4 separate regions of the Homo sapiens genome follow, and regions 1, 3 and 4 are each linked to region 2. Evidence: promoter capture Hi-C in 16 types of primary human blood cells and fetal thymus (Javierre and others, 2016). All regions are on one chromosome and are shown on one strand. Each heading gives the region's core, a stretch centred on a gene start or on the middle of the fragment in contact. The rest is flanking DNA. Distances are from core to core; before and after follow the strand shown. Region 1 has its middle 100 kb from the start of IFNGR1. Region 2 holds the start of PEX7 (peroxisomal biogenesis factor 7). Region 3 has its middle 46 kb from the start of IFNGR1. Region 4 has its middle 69 kb from the start of IFNGR1.

Evidence for each region. Contacts are between HindIII fragments. The CHiCAGO score rates a contact against its expected background, and 5 or more counts as called.
Region 1: a contact is called between a fragment that was not itself captured here and the fragment with the promoter of PEX7 in region 2, in 1 of 17 cell types (neutrophils). The highest score is 6.3, in neutrophils.
Region 3: a fragment that was not itself captured here is called in contact with the fragment with the promoter of PEX7 in region 2 in 1 of 17 cell types (neutrophils); the score reaches 7.1 in neutrophils.
Region 4: a contact is called between a fragment that was not itself captured here and the fragment with the promoter of PEX7 in region 2, in 1 of 17 cell types (neutrophils). The highest score is 7.9, in neutrophils.

Annotation. Positions count from the first base shown.
Region 1 is chr6:137,319,584-137,322,563 of GRCh38, reverse strand. No RefSeq gene overlaps it. Among named protein-coding and RNA genes, the nearest start is that of IFNGR1, 100 kb to the right of the region's middle. The HindIII fragment of the contact is 723 bases long and covers 959-1,681 here.
Region 2 is chr6:136,821,342-136,824,341 of GRCh38, reverse strand. PEX7 (peroxisomal biogenesis factor 7) reads right to left here and starts at 1,750. Exons shown (of 10, transcript NM_000288.4): 1 at 1,547-1,750. The coding sequence starts at 1,676. RefSeq lists enhancers at 1,140-1,299, 681-1,413, 1,414-2,146, 2,030-2,179 and a silencer at 1,470-1,849. The HindIII fragment of the contact is 4,798 bases long and covers 1-3,000 here.
Region 3 is chr6:137,263,708-137,266,582 of GRCh38, reverse strand. No RefSeq gene overlaps it. Among named protein-coding and RNA genes, the nearest start is that of IFNGR1, 46 kb to the right of the region's middle. The HindIII fragment of the contact is 6,399 bases long and covers 1-2,875 here.
Region 4 is chr6:137,287,526-137,290,225 of GRCh38, reverse strand. No RefSeq gene overlaps it. Among named protein-coding and RNA genes, the nearest start is that of IFNGR1, 69 kb to the right of the region's middle. The HindIII fragment of the contact is 8,336 bases long and covers 1-2,700 here.

The DNA.
Region 1 (2,980 bases), core at 71-2,570, 500 kb before region 2:
GATAAAAATGAAACATTAAAATGCTATTTGGCAAGTAAGCAAAAGCCCAGAGGAGCAAAGCCTGATTCTTTTTTAGACATAGTTCTTTGCAGAGTCCCCTTAAGAGTGCTCAGTAGGGTGTGACCATATTGCTCCCTGTGGTCATCATATGGTTTGCTCACGCAGACGTTGAATTGTTTTGTGAATGTGAAATATTGTATGTTACCCCGAGAGCTGTGGAGCCAGCAGATCCAGGAGCTGTTGTTGAGACTGACAGTTACATTGTGTTACTGAATAGTGAAACGGCAGAATCAAAAACACAAATGGGCCCAGACAGAATGTCCTGACCTTTCAGAAAAAGGCTGATTGGATATGGTGTAAGCTTGCCTTCATTTCCCTCCACAATCCATTACACCTTTCTCAGACCACTTTCTCAGAGTAGGCGGCTCATAGATGAGCTTCTCTTAGATTCTTTATGTGAAAATATTTATGGGGAAAAAAAAACCTAGGAGCACTGCAGCAAATAGCCACCTTCCCCCATATAATTTATTCTTGATAGTTATTTTATATTAACACAGCCAAAAGACAACATTAATAACAGTGTTATCCTTGTTGATCTAAGCGTATTGGTATTAATACTAGTATTTAAATTAAAAAATGAAGACAGATGACCAGATATGGGAATGAATTTGTAAACAATGCTTACAAACAAATGCCATTTAAATGTCTTTAAACTCATAAATTACTGTTTGCAATTACTATTCACTATATTGCTAATTTCTTCAAGCAACCTATATATAAAATATGGAAAGCACAGAAAGGTAGAAGCAATCAGTGTCTCATTTCTCTTTATACATTTTTCTATTAAAGAAGATTTTCTATTAAAGGAGATTTTTTAATAAAGTAATGGTTTTCTTTATAATAAAATTCATTCATTGGTGAGTTTATAATTAAAATATAGCATATATTTTTGTAAGCTTACATTGATATAGCATGTATTTTCATAAGTTTATATTACGTTTCTTTCACTTTATTTGTGAGACTATTAAATATCATCATTTTAAAGATTGATGCTGTTCATGTATGAAGATATATGTGATATATTATTAAATCCAGTGTCCTACGTTGTCGGACACAAGCACCATTATGGTAAGTTAGAACAAGACTATAAAATAACAACTAAGATCATTAACATGACAAAAAATTATAGCTTAAACTACATATTCATTTCTGCTACATTAGAGCTGGATAGTGAAGTGAAATTTTGACTGCCAGGAAAACTTGAATTCCAATACTCAAATAAAATAGTCAAGATGCATGTTCGTGGTAAAAAATATATATATATTAAATATTTATAAAAGTATATTTGAATATTTATAAAAAATATATTTTAATAAAAATTTATAAATATGTATATAATATATATAGCTCCTCTTTATCCTTACTAAGATAGATTTCTCCTTCGATTTCATTTCTAATAATTTTTTCCCCAGAGAACAAACCTGTGGACACACAGAAGTCTTTTTAAAGAGTTCTGTCTGTCTTTCTCTCCCTCTCTTTCCTGTTTAGGATTTCTAGGCTGCCCTTCTGCTTGACAAAATCTCTTTCATAAGTTAATACATTTGACTTCAACAGCTTCTTATTCTATGAACATTTACTACCACTAGACTTGTGATAGGTGATTTAAAAATATTTATAAGCTTATATTGTATTTACTTGAATATTTCATTTGTCTCATGAGATAGAGGGACTTAACTTCCCGTCAGATTTTTAAACTCTGAACTTCTGCTCCAAAAGTCTGATGATTCTACTGGTATTTCTTGCATCTCTGTTACAGGAGAGGAAAGCATCTTCTGGCTCAATTAGCATGCTAAAGAATGGGTTTGGTTTCGTGCTCCATTAAAGTCAACTAAATAGATGCGCTGCATGTCTTTATTTCAAAAATAAAGCTGAACAATTAAATCCCGTGTCTCTTTGCTCAGTTTTTGATCCCACACAAAGCTTTCCCACTTGCTGCCTTTGGATGTAATGTTAACAAAGTCAGTTAACATCAAGCACTGCAGTAACAGGCATGGCAGAATTCCTTGTTTTTGCTCAATCAGTCTGTGTTCAAACTATCAGTTTGATTTATTTGTCCACATTGACCCTTATTCACCACTTAATTATCCTCGTATAATGTTTCAAGAGGCTCCTGACACAAGGAGAAAGACAATCGCCGATGTTCTGTAAAACAACGGTTGACCTGATGGGCCCAGATGAAGACCGTGGGTCGGAGTTTGTTTGCTTTTGGAAGAACCCACTTCTCCTGTCCGAGAGCTGCATCCAGAGCCACTCGCTGTGGGTGCCACAGGCTGGCCGGTCAAGCTGTTCGTCAGGTTCTCAAACTGTGAGCTGACCATCACCACGGGATAGTCATGGCGTTTTGCTCTATTGGCCTCTCCAAATCCCCCGGTATGTTGGGTGTATTAGAGTTCAGAAAAAAACAAAACCCATGCACCCACTAACACACAAACACACACACACACACACACACACACACACTGAACCTCAATTTCAGCAATGTCTTTATTAGTATATGGTTACTGCTGTGATTAGAAATACATTTTCTCACTTTGTGTATGAACAGGAAAGGTTTTCGAATCACAGGTATGAAATGAGAAATAATATTTAAACATTGAACTGCTTCATATTGTAGTTGATCTCTAAGCTCCTGCTCATAAACCAGATGAATTATAATTTTATTGGAAAATAAACCAATGTCTTTTATACCTAGCCAGAAATACTATTTATTGTAATAGGTTTCATGTGAAATTAAGACAATTATTTTAGAACTGTTGAAATCTGACAACTATTCTATATTCATAGCCCTTAACATTCAAATATAAATTACTGATAGTTAAAAACAGATAATAAACATCAACATTTCTAGAAAAACAGCCCATATAAATATAAAATCATAATTTTATATTTTGAAGTGATTTTCTATAAAAATTTTAAATCT
Region 2 (3,000 bases), core at 501-3,000:
GTGGTCCCAGCTACTGGTGAGGTTGAGACAGGAGGATCATATGAGCCCAGGAGGTGGAGGCTACGGTGAGCTGTGATTGCACCACTCTACTCAACCTAGGCAACAGGGTGAGACCCTGTCTCTAAAGAGAAAAAGAAAAAAGAAAAAAAGAAAACTACTACCATTATAGACTCATGAGTCTTCAGTCTAACTGGTGGGCCATGTAAATCTGAATGTGCAAGCACTAAGAGCTAATAATGAAAATAAATCAAGTATTTCTCTGAGTTTTAGAAGTAACATTTTTTTCTGCTGTAGGACAAAACAAAAAAATACAATAGACCACTGACATTATGAAATGAGTTTTTGCATCTCGCTTCAGTGCGTATAATAGCTAGGACATGAATTAAGGCAAAAGCGAGAATGAACCTACGCCTTTTCATCTAGTCCACGGACTAGATGGACTCTTTTTTTTGAGACGGAGTTTTGCTCTTCTTGCCCAGGCTGGAGTGCAATGGCACGATCTCGGCTCACCGCAACCTCTGCCTCCTGGGTTCAAACTATTCTCTTACCTCAGCCTCCCGAGTAGCTGGGATTACAGGCATGCGCCACCACGCCCGGCTAATTTTGTATTTTCAGTAGAGATGGGGTTTCTCCATGTTGGTCAGGCTGGTCTGGAACTCCCGAACTCAAGTGATCCGCCCACCTCGGCCTCCCAAAGTGCTGGGATTACAGACGTGAGCCACCGCACGGCGCTTGGCCTTTTTTCTTTTTAAGACGGGGTCTCAGTCTGTCACCCAGGCTGGAGTGGAGTGATGTGATCTCAGCTCACTGGGCTGGGGCAGAGTGATGTGATCTCAGCTCATTGTAGCCTCAACATCCCGGGCTCAAGCGATCCTCCCGCCTCAGCCTCCTGAGCAGCTTTAACCACAGGCTGAGCCAATGCGCGCGACGGGAGACAATTAACTGGAGTCTGTAACACCTACTTGCGAATGTGTGCATTCCTCGTTAGACAACTACAGGTAAGAACTGAACTTGATATATTTCATGGTGTCACCCGTGGGACTCCAGGCGTCCATTCAGGAGCATCGTCCTTAGGAAGGCCAGCCCGCAGGTCGCAGCTCAGTGCTCGAATGCAGACTGGGAATTGTGGGCCAACTCGCGAGCCCTGGGTCGGTTCTGGCTCAGACCGTCTTCCCCGTACTGCTGTGCCGAGCGGACCGATCCAAGGGACCGCGCAGGCTCCCCCGGCTCTCCCTACGGGGACGTGTGCCTGGGCGTGTGACACGTGGCGGAGGCAGCGCGGTCTCAAGGAACAAGGACACGGGCTACTAGGCTACACGTATATGCACTTGCACACAACTGGAAGATCGACTCCTGCTTCAGACCAACTCCTCGCACTCGGCAAAGAAAGGAGAAGCGCCGACCAGCGCCTCTTCTGCCCCCTGGCGTGGACCCGCGGAACCGTCTACGCTCAGAGGGGCTTTCCCTCGAGCGCGAGGAACTGGAGCCCGGCTGGCCCCCGCCTCCGCCTCCGCCCCCCGGCCCCAGCTGCGCGGCGCCGCCTCACCCGCGATGCCGTAGTGCTGCGCGGTGGCGCAGGCCAGGCGGCCCGGCAGGTACGGGGAGAACTCGGCGGCGTAGCCGTGGCGTCCCGGCGTCCGCAGCATCCGCGCCGCTCCACCGCACACCGCACTCATCCCGCCCGCCGCCCCCGGCCCTCGCTGCCCCGGCCGCGGAAGCCGTTCCGAGTCGGAGGCACACTGGCGCGGTTAGAGAGACCAGGCAGACCGGACGGAAGTGTGGGCCCCGTGCCCTGTGTTTGAGATTCTGATTGGTCCGCACAGGAAAGGGCGTTGACTCCGACGGAGACCATTTTTGTTTTGGGTGAATCCAAACTGAATTGCGCCTGCTGCAAAGATACAGATCTATCAGGGGAGTGATCCAGGGTTAGGTATTATTAATAATTACGACAGCTTTTGTCGTTGCATCTCAGCCTCCTCTGCGGTGCTATCTGGTTTTTATTTCATTGAGCGTTTGGAAGACTGGCATCAGGAACTTTTCCTGATGATTATAAAGTGAGAAAAGTTACAGCCGACTCTGAAACCACGCAGCGCGTCCAAAATTGCGTGCTGCGTTGCCCAAGGAAACTGGAAGCAATGAGAACTTAAGTCCGTGGAGTCACTGCGGTCTTTAGGAATAAGAGCGTGGGCTGGTGGGCTACTTTCACACTGTAACTGGAAAAGATGAAACACCAACTCCAAACCAACTCCCCATGCTTGGCAAGTGAGAAAAAGGAGCTGGCCAGTTCTAATGAAGCTAAGCAAAAAAGCAGCACATCATCATATACAACTTTTTTAAAAAGTATTACTATACATGTATATATTGTATGGTAATAAGTGCTCAGATGCTGGTGCTCATTCATTCATTTATTGCCAGGCATATACTATGTGGAGAATGACCAAATATAATTTATCTGCCAAACCAAGATACTTTTGAGAGTAAAGAGGGTGTAATTATTAAGCCAGGTCAACAGGCACAAACCAAGTCGTATGATCATCTTAACCATATACCAAGAACAGTACTAGGCATTTGGGATTCAAAATAATGGGATATGGTCCATGGCCTCAAGAGATTAGAGAAGAAGACTAAAAGAGAAGTCATGTAATTAGTTAAGTGTAATCAAAATACTGTAGAGGCTATGATAAATTTATATGGGGTATTTTTAAAAGGTGATTGTCCGTGCCAGAGGTATGGAAATTGCAGGAAAGGCTGCAGAAGAGAGATAAGTCTTTATGGTGATTGCACACAGATGAGTAGGTTTTCTTTAGGTAGACAAGAAGATGGAGATCTTTGTAGGAGCAGGAATAACATGAGCAACCCAGGAGATTTAAACCAGCATGATCCATAGGGGGTCGTGGCTGCCAGGACTCAGCCTGGCCAGATGGAAGGGATACGGTGAAAAAAATATTGGGTGGGGAGACTGTAGAGTGTTTTACTGGGGCTAGATCATGAAGAGTCTTA
Region 3 (2,875 bases), core at 48-2,547, 440 kb before region 2:
ATGATGACGAATTTTGGGTTAATTCACCTGCTGTGAAGAGATGAAAAAAGAAAAAACGAAGACTTCACTTTGCTTCTCCTCTATATTTTTAGCAGTCTTTGGAGATTATTCTTACTGGGGAAGAAATTGCACTGAGTCAAAGGCATTTCCTTCTCAAGTGCTAATACGTTACCACACATTACCTCTTACACAGTTCCCTCCTCAAAGAAACATAAACATAGCATAACAGAAGAGAACAGCCTTTTGCGCCATTTTTCAGACACTGGCTCTCCTTGTCCCCTGAGGTTTTCTTCTTTCTGAGTGCACATTCCAGATGGCTGTGCTTTGAAATCCCACACCTGCTCCAACCCTGATCCTCTCCTAGAAACTCCTCTGAGGAGGCATCTCTGGTCTCCCAACCAGGGTGACCAACTCTCTTCTCTGTCCCTTCGTTTCCTTGCATACCCTCCCCGCAGCACTTAACATGTGATATGAAACGCATTTGTGTCTCTTCCCTGGACCATAAGCTCCCTTAGGGCAGGGACTCAGCCTTTTAAACATTTCTTTCCAGTGTCTAATATCTTCTGGCAAATAGCAGACTCTCAGTAGCTGCCAAATACATGCATGCTCTGGTACTATCTCCTGTAAGCCTCGGTAATCTTAACAAGGTTTCCACTATGAAAAATCTCTGTTCTTAATTTCCTTTATTAAGTATTAAGTTTTGGATGTTTCTGTCTAGCAAAAAGCCTGTACTCTGAACCAATAATTTAATCATCTACCAGTTTTGTTGATTAGAAGATAATACTTGTCTCTCAGGGTTTCTAAGGCGCCGCACCCAGCCAAGAGTTTTTATTCCTTGGCATGTGTCCAGGAAATTTCTAGTTAAGAATAGGCTTATGATAATCCGGTCTAAGATCTAGAAGATTTACAAGTCATAGGAGTTTTAATTTATGGGATTCTGGAAAGTGAACTAGTTGCATAATTTGTATATATATCCATTTTCCTGAACTATTTTTAAAAACATCTTTCTTGACATGTGTCACATACCATAAAATTCAATCATTTAACATATACAATTCAATGTTTTAAAATATATTAATATATTTGTGCAAACATCTCTATAACTTTAGAGCATTTTCATCACCAGCCCTCCTCCAAACACCCTGCTGCCATCACTGCCCATTCTCTCTCCCCTCTTTGGCCCTAGGTGCCCACTAATGTACTTTTTGTCTCTGTAGATTTGCCTACTCTAGACATTTCTCATAAATAAAATCATACAATATGTGATCTTTTATGACTTGCTTTTTTTATTTAGTATTTACAAGGATCATCCATGATGTAGCCTGTGTCAGTACTCCATTCTTTCTTCTGTTGCCAAATCCTATTTCATTGTATAGATATACCTCATTTTGTTGATCCATTCATCAGATGATGAACATTTGGGTTGTTTCCAATATTTGGCCATTATATATGATGCTGCCATGAAAATGGCAAATTAAATTTTTGTGTGGACTTAAATTTCCATCTCTCTTGGACATATATAGCTAAGAGTAGAATTGCTGGGTCCTGTGGTACCACCATGTTTAACTTTATGAGGAGCTGTCAAGCTGCTTTCCACGGTGGTTGCATCATTTTACATACCCACCAACAATATATGAGGGTTCCAATTTCTCCACATCCTCACCACTTACTATCATTCCTTTTTTAATTACTGTAGCTATCCTAGTGAATGTGGTTTTGATTTGCATTTGCCTAATGTCAAACAGATGTTGAGCATCTTTCCACGTGCTCATTGGCCATTTATATAACTTATTTGGAGAAATGTCTATTCAAATACTTTGCCCTTTTAAAATTGTGTTGTCTTTTCATTGTTAAATTATAAAAGTTCTTTATATATTGTGAATTAAGGCTCTTATCCGATATGTGATTGTCATAGTTAAGAAATCATTGATTAGCCCAAGGTCACAAAGATTTAATCTTGTCTTAGTCTGTTTTCTGCTGCTATAACGGAGTATCACAGACTTGATAATTTATACACAAAAGATTATTTGGCTCACAGTTTTGGAGGCTGGGAAGTCCAAAGGCATGGTGCCAGCATCTGCTTAGCCATCTGGTGAGGGCTTTCTTGTTGCATCACACCATGGCTGAAAGCAGAAAGGCAGGTGACAAATGAGACAGGGAGAAAATGGAGGTCAAACTTATGCTGGAGTCCTCTCCCTCAATAACTAATCCACTACCCTGATAACAGCATTAATCCGTTCACAAGGGCAGAACCCTCATGATCTACACCTCTTAAAGGTCTTACCTCCTAGTACTACCCCAATGGCAATTAAATTTGACCATGAGTTTTGGTGGGACATTCAAACCATAGCAAATCCCATGTTTTCTTTTAAGAGTTTTGTAATTTTAGCTCTTTCATTTCAGTTGTCAGGGAAGCTACAGATTACCTGTCCCTGTGTAAGTTCTCAGTTGAGACAAGCCCCTGTAACAAAAGCAGATCAACAAGAAAAAAACAAACAAGTTTATTAACACATACAGTGAACACCATGCAGGAAAAACCTCAATGAAAAGTAACTCAAAGCAGTTGCTTAGAACTCTGGCTTGTATCGCATCTTCAACAAAGAACAATAAATTTATAGAGAAATGACAGGACAAAGGAAGGCAATTTCCTTTCGGGGTAGGAAACAGTGGGAAAATAACTATATGGGGGTAAACTAATGAAGTAACGTTTGTTTGCAGATTCTTCTGGTGCTTTCTCTGGGTGAATAGAGTCTAGAGTTGTGTCCAGTAAACGAGAATTTATATCCTACCTTGAGGCAGAAAAGGGGAAGACAGCGAGAGCTTTTTCCATTTGCTGCTTCTTAATTGCCTTCAGTCACAAAATAATTGATAATTG
Region 4 (2,700 bases), core at 44-2,543, 470 kb before region 2:
TTTGGGTCTAGGAAATGTATGCACACAAAACAGGGAATATCTTTATTTCTGCTTCTGGTGGGCTACACAGTCATAAAGAGTTGAGAGACAACTGAGAGACTATGTAAACTGAACTCATTTTACCCACCAGTAAACTGTCAGCAATAGAATTTACACTAGAACCCAAGTCTTCTGATATTTACTCTCAAGTACATTCCACTAAAACCACCCTGGGAAGCTCCTGGGAGAGGAGGACCTTCTCTTCTTATTTATTTTTTCGGGAATGGAAGGACAGAGATAATGATGGGAAACTCATCTCATCCCACGGCCTCATAGGTAGTTACTTTTGCTTAGTCAGGAAGTTCACTCCTCCCAGATGGCCAGCTCAGGACCACCCTCCAGCCTGTCCTGGGATCCTGCCCTGCCTGATGCCCTTCCCTCTCTCTCCCAGTCTCACAGCCCTTTCTCCGTGGGTCAGCGATGGCTGCTTCAGGCGGGCTGGTTCCCTACCCTTCACTCTATTTTCTCCTCCATAGTTTCTAGTATTAACTGGGTAAGAGAAGCAAGCGTGCAAGCATGAAGACCCAAGGAGAATAGGATTTTCATCTGCTTAGTTCACTGCTGAGCAATGTTTGGCACACAGTAGGCCTTCGGTGTTTTCTGAATGAATGGAAATATTTTTTCTTTCCACCATTCAGTTAAATATTTCCATCCAGTGGAAATGTCTTCATGACTTCAGTCACTTCATCCAGGCTCTGGGGAACCAGGCCACCCCGTTACCACCCTCACCGGTATTAGCAGTCTTCGTGGGGAAGACAGATTAACACAGGCACTTTCAATTCCTTTCTTGGAACTCCATTTGGACACGCAGCTCTCCCTTTTTCCTAGTCATTCTGTTAATATTAATTTTGTAAACCCTCCAGATAAGGAACAATAACTTCAGTAAGCTCTTGCCCACGTCAAAGATTATATTACAAAGATGGACTACAGAGAGCAAAACACAGTTGGCAAGACCAAAAGCTCATGAAGATGAAGGATAAATTACCCAAGGGAATAACGGGTATATAAATACTTAACACATATATATTATACTAAGATATATTATACTATTATACTTAGTATATATATTACATATACTAATTATATATAATATATACTAAGTGTAACTTCTAAAATGTAAATGTATTATATTATAAAATATTGATTATTAAAATTTAAATTTTATAAAAACCTTTTTAAAAGTCTGTCTCTTTCAACAAAATGCCTAGACAACATCTGCTTCTAACACTAACCTACTCTGATAGGTAATTCTCTTCAATCGTGTTCTTCAACTGTGCAAAAAATAGTATTGCATTTTCTTAATATTCTAAGGAAAATACTCCTACCTCTTTTATTTCATGCTGTACTTCTTTTACATGTTTTTCTTGTCATCTCTTTTTATCTAGAAATTGAATGCCTGTTTCAATTTCATACTCCTTGGTTTCATTCCCACAAGTCTCTAAAAGTTAATTGGGTGGGTATTAAGACCTCTCACAAATTATCATAGTACTTAAAAGCAAAAATTTTAAGACAGAGCTACCAGATGTTGAAAAGGAATGTAAATAATCTACCATCTCTACACCTTCAAAGATATATAGGAGTCGCAACCAGTGTGGTTATCATTGTGGAAATACATCAAACCTGTTCATACTAGTTTTTATCTAGTTATGCAGAACATTTTTATCAAGTATCTACTGTACACCAGACCCTGTTCTGTATGCTACGATAGAGTGAATAGAATCCATGTCCTCATGAATTTTTCTCAGTTTTCCTATTGTGTGTATATGTGTTTGGGGTGGGGATGGAGAAGACTTGCCTGAAGGTTTGGAGAAATGTCATAGAAACTCAGTTTGAAATTGAATATTACAACCTCTTGTCTTTCAAAAAACAGCTCCTTGGCCATTTCCATCTTGTAGCTCCCTATATCAGTATTAAATGGGTTTATTATTATAGCTTTATGAAAAATCTTGATAATTCCCACCACTTTACTTTTATCTGAAAAACAATCTTGGCTATATTTTCAGTCTTTACTCTTTCATATAAACTTTTGAGATCAACTTATCAAAATTCATGAAAAACCCTGCGGGAATTTTGGTTAGAACTAGGTGCTCTTGTTTTTAATTCCAGGAAGAACATTTTGATATTAATTAATTTTGGAGGTAAGGTTATTGTTCATAAACATTCACACACCTACCTTCTTAGATGGGATGTGTTTGCCCATCACTTGTTTTGGAGCTGGACAGGTGGTTTGCTTTGGCCAATGGCATGAGGACTGAAATAATGAGATCAAATGCTTGAAAGATATCTCCATGATTGGGCTTATATTCTTGTACCTTAATCATCACTGAGAGAAGACAAATTAAGACTAGTCTGCTGGTCCAGGGAGAATAATGCAGAGCTGCCCAGCTGAGTCCACCCCAGATTGGTCAACCCCTATGCAACCTGCAAATGCTTGAGCAAGTTCAACTAAAATCAGTAGAATTGTCCAGCTGACCCATAGATATGTAATAAATAATTGCTTACTGTTGTATTCAACTAGATGTTAGGGATTTTTGTTACAAAGCAGTAGCTTCCTCTTACATTGCCCTAAAATTAAAACTGAGTTTTATAAATATTTGTAACAAATACAAGTTGTTTTATCTGCCCAGAAGAGCATCCTACTTTTCTTCTGCCCATTCTGAT